4 separate regions of the Homo sapiens genome follow, and all the other regions are linked to region 1. The links are contacts of gene promoters, found by promoter capture Hi-C in blood cells and fetal thymus (Javierre and others, 2016). All regions are on one chromosome and are shown on one strand. Each heading gives the region's core, a stretch centred on a gene start or on the middle of the fragment in contact. The rest is flanking DNA. Distances are from core to core; before and after follow the strand shown. Region 1 holds the start of ADRB1 (adrenoceptor beta 1). Region 2 holds the start of LOC124902505 (a long non-coding RNA gene). Region 3 has its middle 15 kb from the start of PLEKHS1. Region 4 overlaps PLEKHS1 (pleckstrin homology domain containing S1).

What was found. Contacts are between HindIII fragments. The CHiCAGO score rates a contact against its expected background, and 5 or more counts as called.
Region 2: a fragment that was not itself captured here is called in contact with the fragment with the promoter of ADRB1 in region 1 in 2 of 17 cell types (megakaryocytes and erythroblasts); the score reaches 5.7 in megakaryocytes.
Region 3: a contact is called between a fragment that was not itself captured here and the fragment with the promoter of ADRB1 in region 1, in 1 of 17 cell types (total CD8 T cells). The highest score is 5.7, in total CD8 T cells.
Region 4: a fragment that was not itself captured here is called in contact with the fragment with the promoter of ADRB1 in region 1 in 1 of 17 cell types (erythroblasts); the score reaches 5.3 in erythroblasts.

Annotation. Positions count from the first base shown.
Region 1 is chr10:114,041,397-114,045,586 of GRCh38, reverse strand. ADRB1 (adrenoceptor beta 1) reads right to left here and starts at 1,721. Exons shown (of 1, transcript NM_000684.3): 1 at 1-1,721. The coding sequence starts at 1,454. The coding sequence ends at 21. RefSeq lists silencers at 1,624-1,683, 1,754-2,033 and an enhancer at 2,304-2,353. The HindIII fragment of the contact is 8,909 bases long and covers 1-4,190 here.
Region 2 is chr10:113,710,548-113,714,737 of GRCh38, reverse strand. All of the region lies in intron 2 of CASP7 (caspase 7), which reads right to left. LOC124902505 (a long non-coding RNA gene) reads left to right here and starts at 2,889. Exons shown (of 2, transcript XR_007062294.1): 1 at 2,889-3,148; 2 at 3,729-4,057. The HindIII fragment of the contact is 1,241 bases long and covers 1,578-2,818 here.
Region 3 is chr10:113,734,380-113,738,569 of GRCh38, reverse strand. No RefSeq gene overlaps it. Among named protein-coding and RNA genes, the nearest start is that of PLEKHS1, 15 kb to the left of the region's middle. The HindIII fragment of the contact is 181 bases long and covers 1,959-2,139 here.
Region 4 is chr10:113,767,874-113,772,063 of GRCh38, reverse strand. PLEKHS1 (pleckstrin homology domain containing S1) reads right to left here. Exons shown (of 13, transcript NM_001395068.1): 6 at 3,174-3,249; 7 at 2,164-2,280; 8 at 1-94. Among named protein-coding and RNA genes, the nearest start is that of MIR4483, 8.1 kb to the left of the region's middle. The HindIII fragment of the contact is 2,272 bases long and covers 1,422-3,693 here.

The sequences.
Region 1 (4,190 bases), core at 472-2,971:
TCCGCGCCCCGCGCCGGGCCCTACACCTTGGATTCCGAGGCGAAGCCGGGGCGGCACGGCTCGTCCAGGCTCGAGTCGCTGTCCGCCGCCGCCCCGCCGTTGCAGCCGGCCCAGGGCTCCAGCAGGCGCGCGGGCGGCGTGGCCCCGACGACATCGTCGTCGTCGTCGTCCGAGGCGGCCCCGGGCGATGGCGGGGGTCCGGGCCGGGCCAGACAGCCCGAGGCGCGCGGCCGGTCTCCGTGGGTCGCGTGGCGCCGGCGGGCAGCCCTGCGCGCGCAGCAGAGCAGTCCCTGGAAGGCCTTGCGGAAGTCGGGGCTGCGGCAGTAGATGATGGGGTTGAAGGCCGAGTTGGCGTAGCCCAGCCAGTTGAAGAAGACGAAGAGGCGGTCGGGCACCAGCTCGCGGTGGAAGGCCTTCACCACGTTGGCCAGGAAGAAGGGCAGCCAGCAGAGCGTGAAGACGCCCATGATGATGCCCAGCGTCTTGAGCGCCTTCTGCTCGCGCAGGGCCACGAGGCGCGAGGGCCGCCGCTTACCCGCACGCCCGTTGGCCAGCGGGGCGGTGGCGGCGGCGGCGGCGGGGCGCGGGGGTCCGGGCGGCGGCGCGGGCGCGGGGACGGGCGAGGGCGAGGGCGAGGGCGGCCGCGCTGGGCCGCCGAGGAAACGGCGCTCGCAGCTGTCGATCTTCTTCACCTGCTTCTGGGCCTCGCGGAACACCCGCAGGTACACGAAGGCCATGATGCACAGGGGCACGTAGAAGGAGACTACGGACGAGGCGATGGCGTAGGCCCGGTTGGTGACGAAGTCGCAGCACTTGGGGTCGTTGTAGCAGCGGCGCGCCTCGTCGCTCTCCGCCCGCCACCAGTGCATGAGGATGGGCAGGAAGGACACCAGGGCCGAGATGGCCCACACGGTGCACACGAGGCCCCGCGCCCGCGCGCGCGTCAGCAGGCTCTGGTAGCGGAAGGGCGAGGTGATGGCGAGGTAGCGGTCCAGGGCAATGACACACAGGGTCTCGATGCTGGCCGTCACGCACAGCACGTCCACTGAGGTCCACAGCTCGCAGAAGAAGGAGCCGTACTCCCAGCGGCCCCACACCACGATGGTGGCCCCGAACGGCACCACCAGCAGCCCCATGACCAGGTCGGCGCTGGCCAGGGACATGATGAAGAGGTTGGTGAGCGTCTGCAGCCGCGGCGTCTTGGCGATGGCCACGATCACCAGCACATTGCCCGCCACGATGAGCAGCACGATGAGCGCCATCAGCAGACCCATGCCCGCTGTCCACTGCTGAGACAGCGGCTCGGGGCTTTCGCTGGCGGGAGGCAGCAACGAGGCGGGCGGCGACGCGGGCACCAGCAGCCGCGCCGCGGTGGCCGCGCCGTCGGGGAGCGGTGCGGCCGACGACAGGTTACCGGGCTCGGAGGCGCCCAGGACGAGCACCCCCGCGCCCATGCCGAGCTGCGGAGGCCGGGGGCGGGGGGTGTGGCAGGGCTGGGCCGTGGTTGGGGAACACCCCAGAAGCCCGGGCGGCGTGGTGCGCAGAGGGAGGTCGCGGCCGGGTCAGGGCAGCCGCGGCGCGGGGCCGGAGGCATGGGCGCCGGGCGCCTTTCCCGCAGGAGCCGAGCGCTGTCGCTGCCGCTGCCGCCGCCGCCGCCGCCGCCGCTGCTGCTGGAGCCGCTGCCGCTGCTGGAAGAGCCGCCGGGACTTCAGCATGTTTCTGAGCGCGCCGGGCCCGCAGCTCCGGCACCCAGCACCCACCCCACCCCGCTCCCACTCCCCAAGCCAACCCCCGGGGCCTCGCGTCAGGCTCCTGCAGCCAATCCGGGCAAAGGCACGCCCCCGTCTGGTCTGCACCCCCACCTCCAACTCCCCGCACCCCCCTCCCGTTGGCAATTGAGCGGCTCCTGAGAGTCCCGAGCTGATCGCGTAGCTAGTGCCTCCCGTGCGCCCGCGGGTTCCTGCGGACGCACCCCTTCCTGCGCCCGCTGGTTCCTGGTCCCTGTTCCCCCGCGCCCCCTTCCGCGCCTGGCTCCCCCCGGGGCCCCGTCCCCTCCCTCAGCCCCCACTCGCTCCCGCACCCACTCCTGCGCCCCGTTTGCCTCCCGCACCCGCTCCTGCGCCCCGTTTGCCTCCCGCACCCGCTCCTGCGCCCCGTTTGCCTCCAGCACTCGGCTCCCTCCTGCGCCCCCGCTCCCCCCGCATCCCCTCGACCTGCAGTTCCGGGGTTCTCTGCGGAACAGAGCGCTAGCTCCCTTGAGCGGGGAGGGGACCTTGGTGTTCAGGAAGCGCCAGAGCGCCTGGGACAGCTTGTCCGCCAGGCTTGGAGGAGTTTGCCCTGCGAGCTTGGTTGTGATGTGGGGCAGCCTAGCAGGGTGTGTGTAAAACCCTTCCCCCGTCAAGACGGGACCCAGCCAGCATGCGTCGTGACAGCTTGGGGGATTGGAGGTGGGTGTTAGTGGTTAGAAGAAACTTCCCAGCAGAGCGGGTTGCTGGAGCCAAGCGCGCATCTGTCAAGAATGCTCTCTGGGCGCTGTTCTTGCAAGGATCCTCTGTTGAACCTCGAGTGCAGTAGATGTGGAAAGGAAGCGAAGGTTTGTGCATCTAACAGCTAACGCTGAGGGCCCTTTGGAATCGTACACACTCCTCAGTCCTAGCTAATGAACGTGTGAGCATGATGCAAAAATGTATGCTCATGATATGAAAGGAGAGGCTTAGGGAGACAGAAACGTTGAGATACAGAGTAAACGATACCACCGCGAGGGGGAAAAAACGCGTTTAATTACATTTTAGACTTTTCAATGATAACACCTGTATTTTGTGTTTTATTACTCATGTGATTTTATAATTTGAGCTGGGTCAATACAAACAAAAAGGTACTGTCAGTTTATGCTGACGTAATGAACTGCGATTTCAGATTCCTTGGTCTGCGTGCTTGTTTTCTCCTTTGCCCAAGTTCCCAGATTCTCAAAACTCTGAGATTAGTTTTGAAGGGATGAGACAAGAAAACATATAAATACTCCAGAGGATTAAAATCCAAAAGCATTTAAAGTTGTATCTGTGGTTTTTTTTTTTTTTTTTTTTGAGTTGGCAAATGAATTGCTTTGAAATTAGTGAGTTGTTAACCTGGCAAAAAGGATTATACTGGGGGTGAGGGGACAAGAAAGCCATGAATATGCAATATGGCAGGACTGCAAGCCCCTTCTCTAATTTGGCTCCTGTAGTGTCCTCAGCTCAGGCCTGAAATAAAAAAAAAAATAAAAAAATTAAAAAAATCTCTAATTGAGTCCTTGAGGAGTAAACAGCTTCTAATTGTTTATGTAAGGGTGCATGAAAATGTTATATAATGCTCACAGGTCCTTCTAGCATTGGAATAAGAACAGCGCCCGTAACGAACATCATGTTCGTTGATGGTCATCAATATGACCAAGCTCATATCCTTACCTTGCAAGGAGAGACCGACTTCCACAGCTGTCCAGGTCAAAAGCAAAAAGTAATGTTTTTCAAGTTTATATAAAATCAAGCAGTTTTAACCACTTTCTCTTACATAAATGCAAACATATGAATTTGCTTTAGGCCCAAACCTCAGCATCAGTATGTTAAAACTGGGGAGTGATTTGTTTATTCACCCCCTGCCCATGATTTATCAGCTGATTTTCCAACTTGGGGAGGTTGAGGAGGAGTGGCCAGGAAACAAGAGGCGTTAGAAAGGGGAGGAAGGAGACTACACCCCAAGTTATCCAAGTCACTGAAAGCCTGAGACTCCTGGCTTCTTTCTTTTTATTTTTTTGAGACAGAGTTTCACTTTTGTTGCCCAGGCTGGAGTTCAGTGGCGTGATCTTGGCCCACTGCAACCTCTGCCTCCCGGGTTCAAGTGATTCTCCTGCCTCAGCCTGTCAAGTAGCTGGGATTACAGGCGTGTGCCGCCACACACGGCTAATTTTGTATTTTTAGTGGAGATGGCGTTTTACCATGTTGGTCAGGCTGGTCTCGAACTCCTGACCTCAGGTGATCCACCCACCTTGGCCTCCCAAAGTGCTGGGATTAGAGGCATGAGCCACTGTCCCCGGCCTCCTGGCTTCCTTCTGGACCCACAAGGGGCAGTCTCAAAATAGCCAAGGGATTGGAAGAAGTTGAAATTGACGCTGCCCAGGAAAGGAGTTCTGAGTGCTGAGCTGCAGGGTGAGGCAT
Region 2 (4,190 bases), core at 949-3,448, 330 kb after region 1:
GGAACTCCAGGGTCCTGACCACAGCCCACAGGGCCTACATGAGTTACTACCCCTATTATATCCACTTTTTCCTTCCCACTCCTGCCTCAGCCTCAGGAGTAGCTGGGATTACACGTGCACGCCACCATAACCGGGCAATTTTTTTTGTATTTTGTTAGTAGAGATGGGGTTTCATCATGTTGGCTAGGTTGGTCTCGAACTCCTGACCTCAGGTAATCTGCCCACCTCGGCCTCCCGAGGTGCTGGGATTACAGGTGTAAGCCACCACGCCGGCCCCTGCTTTAATTTTTAAATTCATCACCTGACCTCAAATTACAGAGCTATGTTGTCTCCTGCTAGAGTGTAAACTCTATGAGGGCAGGACCTGGACTACTTCACTGCAGTTCCCCCAGCTTCTACAACAGTGCCAGACACATAGCAGGTGCTCAACAGTGTTTTGTGAATGAGTGAAGAGCGTTTCGTGCTGAAGAAACACCACAGTCAGAGGCCCTGGGCCACCTCTGTTTAGGTGATCAGCTAAATGGAGCTGCCGTCCTGCCTGGTGACCAGCAGGACATGTCAGGGGCAGGTGAGGGAGGGGCAGGCACACTGGTACCCGCACTTCCATTTTGCCAATTCTTGTTGCAAGGCTGCTGCAGAGACACTCATTAGGTACAGCCTCATTAGGCTCAAAGCTCACATATAGGAAGAGAACAGATTTCTGAGAGGGAGTTAATTTAGGGCAGCCCGAACGCAGGACAACTCTTGCTTGAGTATTTCTTTCAGGTGGGAGACCTAATACTACCTGGAAACATTTTTGGAGTAATAAGTTTTCTTCCCTCATTTCCCCTGACTCTCCCATTTCCAGTGTTGAACCTTCATAGCACACTTCAATTACAAGAGCTATCTGGCAGACATAAGCTTATTCAATTAGTCACTCGCTCCCATAATAACCAGGTTGGATCATAAAGGGAGGGTTCTTTAATCAAAATCACACAGTACAGTAAACAAGAATGAGGAACCTCTTTATGTTCTGATGTGGGACAATCTCCAATAAGTCGTGTTAAGTGCAGAACAAAACCAAATTGCAGAACAATGGCAGCAGTGTGCTACCTTTTGGAAAAAAAAAAGAAGAAAAGAAAATATGTTTAGATTTGCTCGTATCTGCATAAAGAGACACTTGAAGGATGGTGCAGTAGATAAATCCATGGATTCAGGGGCTGGGCTGTGTGGATTTGACTCCCTATTCTACTGCATAGCTGTGTGACTGTGGGCAAATTACTTAACCTCTCTGTGCTTGTGCTTCCTCATTTGTTAAAAGGACAAAATAACAGCATTTGCTCAGAGCCTGTAAACAAGTTAATCTTCACAAAGCATTTAGAACAGTGTGTGTCCTGTTGTAAGTGGTAAATAAACATCATGATTATTACTGTTATTGATACAGGAGATAGAAATTATTTAGGCAGATAGTAAGGGTATAAGAGTCCTCCACAGAATTTCCCTTTTAACAAAAAGCAGGCCCCAAATAATTTCTTTTTTTTTAACAAAGAGCAGTCTGAAAAATCAAGCTGCAGACATAGATAAGCAAGCTGGAAGCTTGCACGGGTGAACACCGGCAGCTATGCCAGTAGAAAAGGGCTACGTAAGGGCCAGGTATGTTTAACATGGAGGCTCCACTCTTCCCTTTTCTTTGCCACCACATGTACAGTAAGGAAACAGGTAACATGGCGCTGGCCAGGTGGAGAACCAGCTGCATAATAAAAGATGAGTGTGGGGTGGCCAGCTTTTTCATGCCCTACGCAAATGACACACCTAGCCCTAAACAGTTTTTGGTGCCCTATGCAAATGACACACCTGGTTCAACCAATCTTTTGCATCCTATGTAAATCAGCCACTGCCTCCTCAAGCTCATCTATGAAACGCCTTGCATTCCACTGCGGAACCAGCAATCCATTTCTCTTGGACCCCTCTCTCTGCAGTAGAGAGAGCTCTTCTCTTTCTTTTGCTTATTAAACTTCCACTCTGAACCTCAGTATTTGTGTGTCTGTGTCTTAGTTTTCCGTGGCCGTGAGACAATGAATCTTGGGTATTTACTCCCGACACTGACGCCGGTTCATTATTATGTCTATCTTTCAGCGTGGTTATCTGTGTTACAGGGAGCTGGGAGCAGACAGTAGGCAAGAGTGGAAGAACTCTGTGTAACTTTTTATTATATGCAAATAAGTTATTTAAAACACTAAACTAATAATTGCCATTTAACAGTTAAAAGTCTCTTGCTTGCTACAAACGGATTTCAAGATCTGGCTTATTTTGAAGATCACTGGATTCATACTTTTTTGTGCTAATTGAGGGGGCTCCCTAGACACCCCGTTTTTCTATTTTTCACTGTGACTTTATCCCTCTGCCTAGCCTTTTAAACTTCTTACTCCACTGTGTCAGCAATAACAACAATAATAAATACAGTTATAATAAACATCATTTTTTGATCATTTACCACTTTACATATATTATCTCATTTAATCTTCAAGAGTTCTGTGAGGTATTAGTTCCATTTCACAGAGAGGGATGAAATCAGCTTGTCCAAAATTACAAAGCTAGAGAGGAATAGAGCCTGGATTCATTCCAAGGTGTAACCCCAAGTCTCCTATTCCAGAGTTTCTCAACTTTGTTAAAATTCGGAATCCTATGCTTTGCTCTAGACCTACAGAATGAGTCTCAGGTCAGGTGTGGGCGTTCTCCTGGGATGATCTCCAATAAGTAGTGTTAAGCACAGAACAAAAGCAACATGCTGATCAATGGCAGCAGCAGAGGGTCTGAGCATCTCGGACCCTCTGAAGCTTGAGGGTCACGATGACAAGCCTGTCCGCCCACTGCATAGGCCCTCTTGGCTCTGACCTTTCATTGCTGTCTCTGATCTTGTTTCAAGCCCCTCGCCTACTTCCAGAGCCCGTGGAAGTGGAGAAGTTGATGGAAGATGTTGGCCCCACATTCCTGCGTGGTGCCGATTCACACTCCTGTGTGGGGCGGAGAACACCAGCTCGCTCTACGGTATCAAACACCTCTCCAGCTGTGCACAGCCTTTTGGCTCCTTGGCTCTTGGCCAGGAGATGGAACCTGACATACCTCAGGAAGCACGGCCTCTGGAAGGTGCCCCTCTGCAGCAGTGAGGGTATGTTTAGGGCCACGGGGGCAATTTACAACTCTCCTTGGAACCTGCAAGGTCTCCCAGCAATGACAGCTGAGCTGAACATTAAACTGAAATTCCTTTAATGCCACCACCAAAATCCTTCCAGGAAATGCCCCAGCAGGCAGTGTCATCCTTAGAGTCTCCTTCCTTTGTAACAAACTGTGTAGAGTCCCCAGGGCAGCCTAGGTGTGAGCAGTAATTCACTCTCAGCACAGTCAGAGGAGACATGCTTTGTGATCTCAGTCCCAGCAGCGAATAAAAGAGTTACTGTCTGCTTGGAAATCAGCTGCTGGAGTCGAGCAGATCATCAGCTAAACAACTGCTATTGGACAGAAGAAAGGGCCTCAAGGGCTCCCAGGAGATTGTGCTAATTAATTAGCCAATGGCACAAAGAAGGCAACAGTCCATAGCTCAGTCCAGCAGGTTCTCCCAGGGGTGGGAGCTGGGGAGGGAAAAAGAAGGAAAATAAAATGCTTTCAAAGGTCCAGATTAGAAACTTCTTCAGCTGGCAATCATCCCCAAAGACATGATTTTCTAAAAGTGGCTGTTGTTGTTTCTCCAGGTTCCTAGGACCTCACTGCAGAAGATGCTGAAGCATGTGAGAACTGCTGTACCCCGCCAAACGGAGGGGCAGGAGGAAAAGGCCACTGAGATTCTTTCAAGTCCAGATCAACGGGTATGAGTCTTTCTTCCGAAGCTGATGAACGACACAAACGGTGGAGGAACCACTTCAGATATTTTTTAAGTCACCATGAAGAAGTATGAATATTTTTATAGGCTTATGCTTTACAAATTGAATTAACAATCATTATCCCACTGATTCTGCAAAGTACAGATGAGAGGCAAAGAAAGACAAGGCAAATAAAACTGGCCAGGGTAGTTTTTCCTCCAGAGTTTGTCGCTTCCCATTCTATCCATCCTCCTCTTTTTCCTCTCTTTGCTAACTGCTGATGCAACTACCTTTACTTTGGCCCCGTTTATATTCGGAAGACTTTTACTAAGATTACTTTGCGAAGAAACATAG
Region 3 (4,190 bases), core at 800-3,299, 310 kb after region 1:
TGGGAGGCCAAGGCAGGTGGATCGCCTGAGGTCAGGAGTTCGAGACCAGCCTGACCAACATGGTGAAATCCCGTCTCTACTAAAACTACAAAAATTAGCCGGGCATGGTGGCCCATGCCTGTAATCCCAGCTACTCGGGAGGCTGAGGCAGGAGAATCGTTTGAATCCGGAAGGTGGAGGTTGCAGTGAGCCAAAATCACTCCATTGCACTCCAGCCTGGGCTACAGAGCTGGGCTACTTTATCTAAAACAAAAACAAAAACAAAAACAAAACAAAACAAAACAAAAAAACAAAAACTAAACTCCATAGACTCCTTGAAATTTTCCATACTTCCTAAATTCACAAAGACTTGCCTTTTGCTTGATGACTCAGTTTTCATAAGAACACCCACCAAAGGAAATGTCTCCTTACTTGATTTTAGATTTTTTTGGGAGTTTGCAAAGCCATTTTTGTGTGTTATTTCCCTGGCTCCTCCCAACATCACTGTGAGGTGGGCATTCAGGGTTAAGATGAGGCAATGGAGCTAGAGCAATGGTCTACAGAGTTAGGCTAGGGCTGCCAAACTTAGGAAAACAAAGAAATACAACAAAAAATAACCCTAGCCAGGCATGGTGGTGCACGCCTGTAATCTCAGCTAGTTGGGCAGGCTGAGGCAGGAGAATCGTTTGAACCCGGGAGGTGGAGGTTGCAGTGAGCCGAGATTGTGCCACAGCGCTTCAGCCTGGGCAGCAGAGCTAGACTGCCTCAAAACAAAAAACAACAAAAAACCCACCCACACCGGACACCCATTTAAATTGAAATTTTAGATAACAAATAAGTTTTTAGTATATTTTGTGCAATATTTTGGGATATATATATTAAAAAATGGTTGTTCTAGCTGAAATTCCAATTTAACTGGGCATCTTCTATTTCATATGGCAACTCTACATATGAAATGTGTCCTCTTCTAAAGCTCAGGCCAGCGTCTTATGCCCTTCTCTTTCCTGCCTATGATCTCCAGCAGCTTGACTACATCCGCTTTTGGAAGACGTTCTTCCTCTCCACTGCATGGGTAGCCGTTATCCTCAGAAAGAACCTCTTCTGTATGTCAGCATCATTTGCATGTCCTTTTTTCTTTTCTTCATCCTAATCTCCTTTCTGTGGCCTCAATTATTGATAAGATCAAGCTGGTTTAAAAAACACAACCCAACATTTACTTGACTTTTGCTTGATGTCTTAGTTTTCATAACAACATCCAACAAAGGAAATGTCTCCTTATTTGATTTTAGATTTTTGGGGAGTTTTGCAAAGCCATTTCTGTGTGTTATTTCCCTGGCTCCACCTAACATCCCTGTGAGGTGGGCACAAGACCTGTGGAGGTAGGTATTATTTCCTAGGTACTCACATAGGACTAATTCTATTTGAGGATGAAAGAAGAAAGGTTTGGAGAGATTAAGAGACTCCTCAAGGTCATATAGCTTGGAAGTGCCGAAGTTGGGATTTGAACCTGGGGCTATCTGACACCAGGGCCTTTTTTTTCTTAATTAGCATGCTAGGAAAACAAGAAGATGGTATTGAGGACCTTGTGGCTTAGCCATTCAAGTTTTCCAGACTTGCTCAATTTGGCTTTCTGCAACTCCTGGGGTTTGGAACAATCATTGGATAAACCTTTTCCATTCCATGTGGGTGGCTAGAGAGATAAAAAGTGTTGACAATATAGCAACCCATAAGATGCATGCATATTCTTGGAAACCTTATTTTTAACCCTGAAAAAAAAAGTGTCACCACAAGGCTCTTGAAGAAAGATTTCAGCAGTCATTGCCAGCAAAGTCAACACTAAGTCAACCCAGGGACTTGCTCTTTAAACACATTTGCTGAGGCTAAGGGGCAAATAGTTTATACGATTCTGGGTAGCTGGCCACAAATATGTGTCAAAGAGGCTTTTTTCCAAGTGTTCAGTATCTTTTTTGGTATAAGCTTCTCCTGTGCTTTAGCCCTCTGTAAATATTTGTGCAATTAATGTATGCTGGCAAATGTCTCAAGAGGAAAGCAGGCTACATTATGCCAAGCAAAATTGTAATTAGTAACACAAAAGAAAAAGAATTTGTCTCTTTCATCTCAGTGCTTAAAAACTGTCAGCACTTAAGGCAGCTGGAAGCTTCAGAAAAGATAATTTGCAAAAGCTGATTTTCCTAAGCGGTTGAGAATGGGTCCTATATCCTAATATATTTTTAAAAACCACATTCACTTGAGAATTCTGTGTTCCCTTCCCTACTTAACATTAATCTAGTTAATTACAAAAGGTGCTGTAGAGAAAAGTTCCTTTAAAAATGTCAACCTCAAAATGTTGTTAAGGGGAGCATTTTGCATTGTGGCACCTATGAGGCACTGGAGGAGAGGGAATACATGAGTGGCCCATCTTGTCTAGAAATGATTGCCTAAGTGATGCAATCGAGAGGAAGAGAAAGACGTGTGCCTGCTGACACCAGCTGGAGAAGTCAGTGCACCTGGACCCATTCAGTGAAAGCTGTCTGCTGATCCACCCCTCCCTCACACTTCACAGTCTTCCTCAAACCTGCCTGGCCAACAAGGGCTTGGCATTCCTGTGCAGCCTCTGGAAGTTTCTGGACAAGAATGCTCCAGTACTGAACTCATTTATGCCCTGAATCCTTTGCTATTCAATCTGGGGATAGGATGGCTAGCCAGGTCTTTGAACAGCCAATGCGCTGCTGGCCCCTGGGTGATCTTTTCCAGCTGTTTAATTTGGGCTTTGCTGCCACTCCTGCAGATCTGCAAGGGAGTCTTTTGGTATCAGAATAATCCATGTTGTCTGAGGACCACCTGCCTCAGAATATCTAGGCAGGTTGGTTAAACATGCAGATTCCTGGTCTCCACCCTAGACCTATTGATTTGCAATGAGGATGCAGTGGGACATAGTGATTTCCTTCCTAAACCGATCTTCCAGGAATTCTCAGGCCATCTTCTACCTGCTAACCTTAATTTCCTCTCCACCACCTTCCCTTCAGCCTTTTTTGGAGGCTGGAATGGAAGATGATGAAAACAGTTCCTTTGGAACCTCTCTTGGAATCCCCAGGCAGGATGCACCCCCTCTGTATTCCTGGGTAATGTACACATGACTGTGTTACAGCCACTAAGCCCTAGAGTGATTTGTTCACCTCCTTTGGTATAAGCATCCTTTCTTGGTCATCTTTCTAGCCCCATCCCTAATATGACATCTGGCATCTAGTAGGACTCTGAATGTTTGCTAAATAAAGCAGTCGCTGATCTAATCCCTTCACTTCTGGGAGACCTCAGGTTGAAAGCATAGACTGAAAAGCATGACTAAGGAAGAGACCTGGAGGCAGAAAGAGCAAGTGAGGCATCCAGGGGGGCATCTTCCGTTCTTGCCCCTCCATGAGCCTCATGTCATCGTCATCATCATCATTCATCACCATCATCTTTGATATCTACTACTTGTCGATTACTTTGTAACTGAGCAGCTTAGTTTCAAACTGTTTTAAGAACTTTTTTCCTTTCCTTTTCCACCTTATGCTCCCATGCCTATGCACAGTTATTTACCTAGATTCTTGTTAAGCTCACACCATGCCCACTTATCTGGTCATGTATTTCCTTAGAAGCTTCAGGGGCCGAATCCTGACATGGACGAGGCATCTCTGGAACTCTCCCCCTAGCGGGAGATGACTTCAAGGACGGAGTTCACTCCCAGCGAGACATTAACTGCACAATTGACTGCAATTAATTTGTAAGCTGGTTGGGCCCAAGATGGTGCTGGCCCCTTCGCCAGTTGGAGCAATAATTTAAGATAAGCCATCGGAGTGAAACATGCCACCTGGCACCTCCGAGCCCCTCCCCCTCCCTGTATTCCAAGCCTCTATTCTTAAACCATTGCCCACTCTCCAGAAACTGAAAAGGTGGCAATTTTCAGAAAGGATTCTGACCTTTTCCCCTTGTTGGCATTGGATAATAAAATTCACTCTCCTTTGATCACACCTTGTTCTTGTTATTTTGGCTTCTTTCTGTAAGTGGTGAGCAGCCAGATCCTCTTTCGGTTACAACTTTGTGCCAGGCATTGTACTAAGCATTTCATGTACATTATCTCATTAATTTTCACATTACCATCTTCATATGTAGATGAGGAAACTGAAGGACTGCCTAAGGTTATGTGGGTTATGTGAGTATTAAATGGTTAA
Region 4 (4,190 bases), core at 1,308-3,807, 270 kb after region 1:
GATAATGATTCTCTTCCTTCACATCTTGAGTGGCTTCTGATAAATCTTGTAGGTGAGTTTGCCTAAATCCTGGAGAACTTTGTTCCATTAAATGCTGAAGAAAAGAGATAAAAATGCTTTGCTTTTTCTTTGCAAGAGATAGAATTAAATCACATGCATTCTAGAAAAGCCGTAATAAATTAGTTGGGTTAAAAAAGACCAGAGGGTCTTCCAAGATTACATCCAGAAGCTCACACAACTTGAACTTGCCTCTTGAGTCTGGGTCACCACTGAGGATGAAAACATATAAGCACATCACTCAGGCTTTTTTTCTCTACCGTTTGGAACAGTCACTCAGAACAAGTGGTTTTCTCCTGTGGGTGGTATTCTTTTTTTTTTTTTTTTTTTTTGAGACAGAGTCTCACTCTGTCCCCCAGGCTGGAGTGCAGTGGCGCGATCTCGGCTCACAGCAACCTCCACCTCCTGGGTTCAAGTGATTCTCCTGCCTCAGCCTCCTGAGTAGCTGGGAATACAGGCGCGCATCACCATGCATAGCTAATTTTTGTATATTTTTTAGTAGAGATGGGGTTTCACCATATTGGCCAGGCTGGTCTCAAACTCCTGACCTCGTGATCCACCCGCCTCAGCCTCCCAAAGTGCTGAGATTACAAGCATGAGCCACCATGACCAGCCCTGTGGGTAGCATTCTAAGTCACTAAGCTCTGGAGTTGCTACCCTCATCTTTTTCCTGTAATCATCCAGTGCCATCTAAGAATGTAATTAACCCAGAATCAAGGCGTTGCACCTTTCCTGTTCCTGCTCCATATTTTTCTTTTGTGTTCTGTTCACACACTTCTATTGTTTCCACAGCAATGGAATTTGGTTGTGTTGATCATATGATAGTATGAATTATGGGTTTCCAGGTGATCTAGATTCAACCACTATTGCCTCCCCTTCCCCATAGATACAGAATATTCTACTAAAGTAGCTTCTTTGCATGGCAGAAAAATTCCAAGAACAATGCCTCAGAGCAGGGGGTTTGGAAAAGACCCTGAATGTTCTCTAGAAAAAAAGTCAAGTTTTAAAATACAGGTGTGTTTAAGTTCTGTCCATGTTTTAAGTTCCAAGCTCATGGAGCCGGATCATGCTGAGTTGGGGGTAAAGGCAGCCCACTTAATTTAACCAACAACAACACCACCCAGCAAGGCAAACAGTACTGTTAACTCGAGCTGGTTTAAAAATCACTGGATCTATAGTGTGAAAAGGCAAAGTGACCAATAATGTTATCTCTAGGGGGAGGGAGATATCATGAGTGAAAAGCAAGAGGCACTTACAGACAAGGGTGAAGCTTCCTAACTGCTGCATACCACCGTTTCTACTCGCTAAATGAAGAACTGAGGTGAGGTGTTTGGCATGGTGAATTTGATATGCTACAAAAAGCTTTCAAAATAGTTGGAGAGCTACCAACTAGATAAAACAAGGGACTAGGACTCATTAGATGTGCTTGGTATACATGGACAGGGTAAAGTCAATGGATAAGTCTCTAAGAGACAAAATAGTATCCGTGCCAGAGAACAAAACCACTCAGCATGTTTATGACTAATATCCCAAGTTGGGAACATTGCAAATCCAAGAAAGCTGAAGGTCCAATTACAAGTCGCTTTCAAGAGGCAGGTACATTATATTTTATGTCTTCAAATGGATTTCATTAGAAATGAGGAAGAAGTGATAGACAGCTATAATGAATGAGAAGCGAGATTGATCAGGGTAAAGGGAAGAGATTAACAAGAAACTCAGCCTTTGCCTGAGGAGTACAGACAGAATGGGCAGAAATCAGGTAGTGTCTGGGAAATCTTTTGGCAGAGGGATCTGTGCCCTCTGTGTGAAAGAAAGGAAGCAAGTTGCCAGCTAGGTTTTGGTTTAGCAAAGGGGTCTTACCCTAGCATACCCAAAGCATATCAAGAGCATCTAAAATGAATGAATACACTGAGAGGTATTCAGGGCAAGCCCTCAGTGAGGCTCATCTGTGGTATGGGATAAACATCAGGGCTAAGAATCTTTCTTATAGTGCATCGGGCTTTGAGGAAGGTGGGCATGGTTAAATTCAATTGCTAATTGGTAAGATTTTTAGGCATTAGCTGCCTCCCAGGTGTGGTGTCCTGAGAAAGAAGTGAGCCCCATTACCTTGTCTTGGAGACCATTTCTTGGTGAGCTGGAGCCAACAGCCTCTGATGTGCTGGAAGGGCCAAGGAGAGGGCTGGAGTAGAAGAGGGTTCTTTTATTACCCAATGAGAGTTCCTCCTGCTCACAAAAAAAGGAATCAGTCAGGGCACAGTTGATCTCTGTCTGGAATGAAACGGCAGCCTCTCTACCGGGCTCCTTGCCTCCTGTCTTTTCCCATAGCAATCTAACATTCATGCCGCTGGCCTGCCAGCATTATTTCACCAAGACAAGAGCCGAACTTGTCTCTCTCCTGTTTCCAAACCCTTGAGGACATTTAGCCTGACCCTCAGAGATGACCAGCGTTTCCCTCAACTTGTCTCCTCAACTGTGTCTCTTTCTGACACCCTCCACCCCAGTTCCCTTTGCTCTAATCACTTCAGTCTACTTGAAGACATGCCTTGATTTCTCCTTCTCTTTGGCTTTTGCTGTAAGCATGGAACAACCTAGAAAACATGTCAAAAAAAGATACCTAGGGACCAAAGTTCCATCTATAAAGGTCTGCCCTGAGAAAGGAACATTAGCAGAGGCCCTTTTGAAATAAGTTTAAAACTTAAAACTGCTAAGCATGTACATGAAAGATACATTATATTAAAAATGCAAGATACATGTAAAACATTTTTATAGAAACTGCCCTAGACTTAGTCATTCAAAAGGGAGCTTGTCATGCACCTTGAATAACAATGATGGAAAATACTATATTCTAGCTACTACTTAAAAATGTCACAGTTAACTTTTCTTCCCTCTAACACAATAATAAAAATCTGAAGTGTCTGTACTTTAGCTCTCTCACAAAACACAAAAGAATTTTTTTCTGTTAATCATAAAAAGTAATAAGGATGTACATTTTCTCATTTATTTATTCCTTGTATTAAAGCCAGTTACTAAGGAGGCAAAGGAAAGCTACCATTGTTTTCTATTGAAAGAGGGTTGTGTTCAGGTGCCCTGTTATTTTATTAGTGATATGGAGTCACCTCTGTGTTCTGCTGTGTTGCTTTTATATCCTGGCGAAATGATGACATGAAGGAGACCCAGTCTTTAATCTTCTCCCTGTTGACAGGAATAAACTTTCAGTTGGCATGTGGCAACAATAGTGCCTTTTGAACCAGAGAAGGATTCTTTTATGAATGTTAGAATGGTGGTGAGAGCAGGTACCAGCGAAATAAGAATTTTTCCTAAGTAGCTTAAATGGCCTCGCCACCTCCACATTTGCACACTAGAATTAATGCTCAGCCACCTCTGCAAGGAAAGCTCAGAGAAAGGGAAGAAAAGTAGAAAATAATAGTAGTAATCACAGGGTTTGGGGCTTTCGGCTTTGACATTGATTTCCTTTGTGTTCTCAAGCAAGCCCCCTAACCTGTCAGTGTCATTTTTGTGTAACTATGCAGGTGGGCCTTCCCTTAGGGAGTGCATGTGTTGATGAAGAATGTGCTTGAGTGAATTTGTATAATCACATCTTTTCTATGGACTCACAGGACAACTTAAAAGGAAGCTTTGGTCAATCTGAAACAGATCAGGGTTTTTCATATGTTGGCTTTGGCATTGTCCGCCTCCTCTGCACAGTCTCTCCCACACCCGCTTTGCCTCTCCCTCAAGCAGATAATCATCCATGAAGAGTCCACTAGGCACCTTTGCTAGGACCAGAAGCCCCTCTTAAAAACTGCAGACTACTTTGGGGGCAAGCCTAGTTCCTCCCTAATATATGTAGCTTGTGTAGATGTTTTTGTATTGGGTTCTTTTACATGGAATGCTTCTGGGGTGATGGTGACTGTTATCGGTTGAAATGTACCCTCCCCGCAAAAATACAATGAATTTGTATGTTTCAGTTCCGTATCCCAATACTTCAGAATGTGACCTTATTTGGAAAGAGGGTTGTTGCAGATGTAATTGGTCAAGATGAGGTCATACTGGAATAGAGAGGGCTCCAAATCCAATATTACTGATGTTCTTATAAAAAGGGGAAATTTGGACACAGAGCTATGCACACAGGG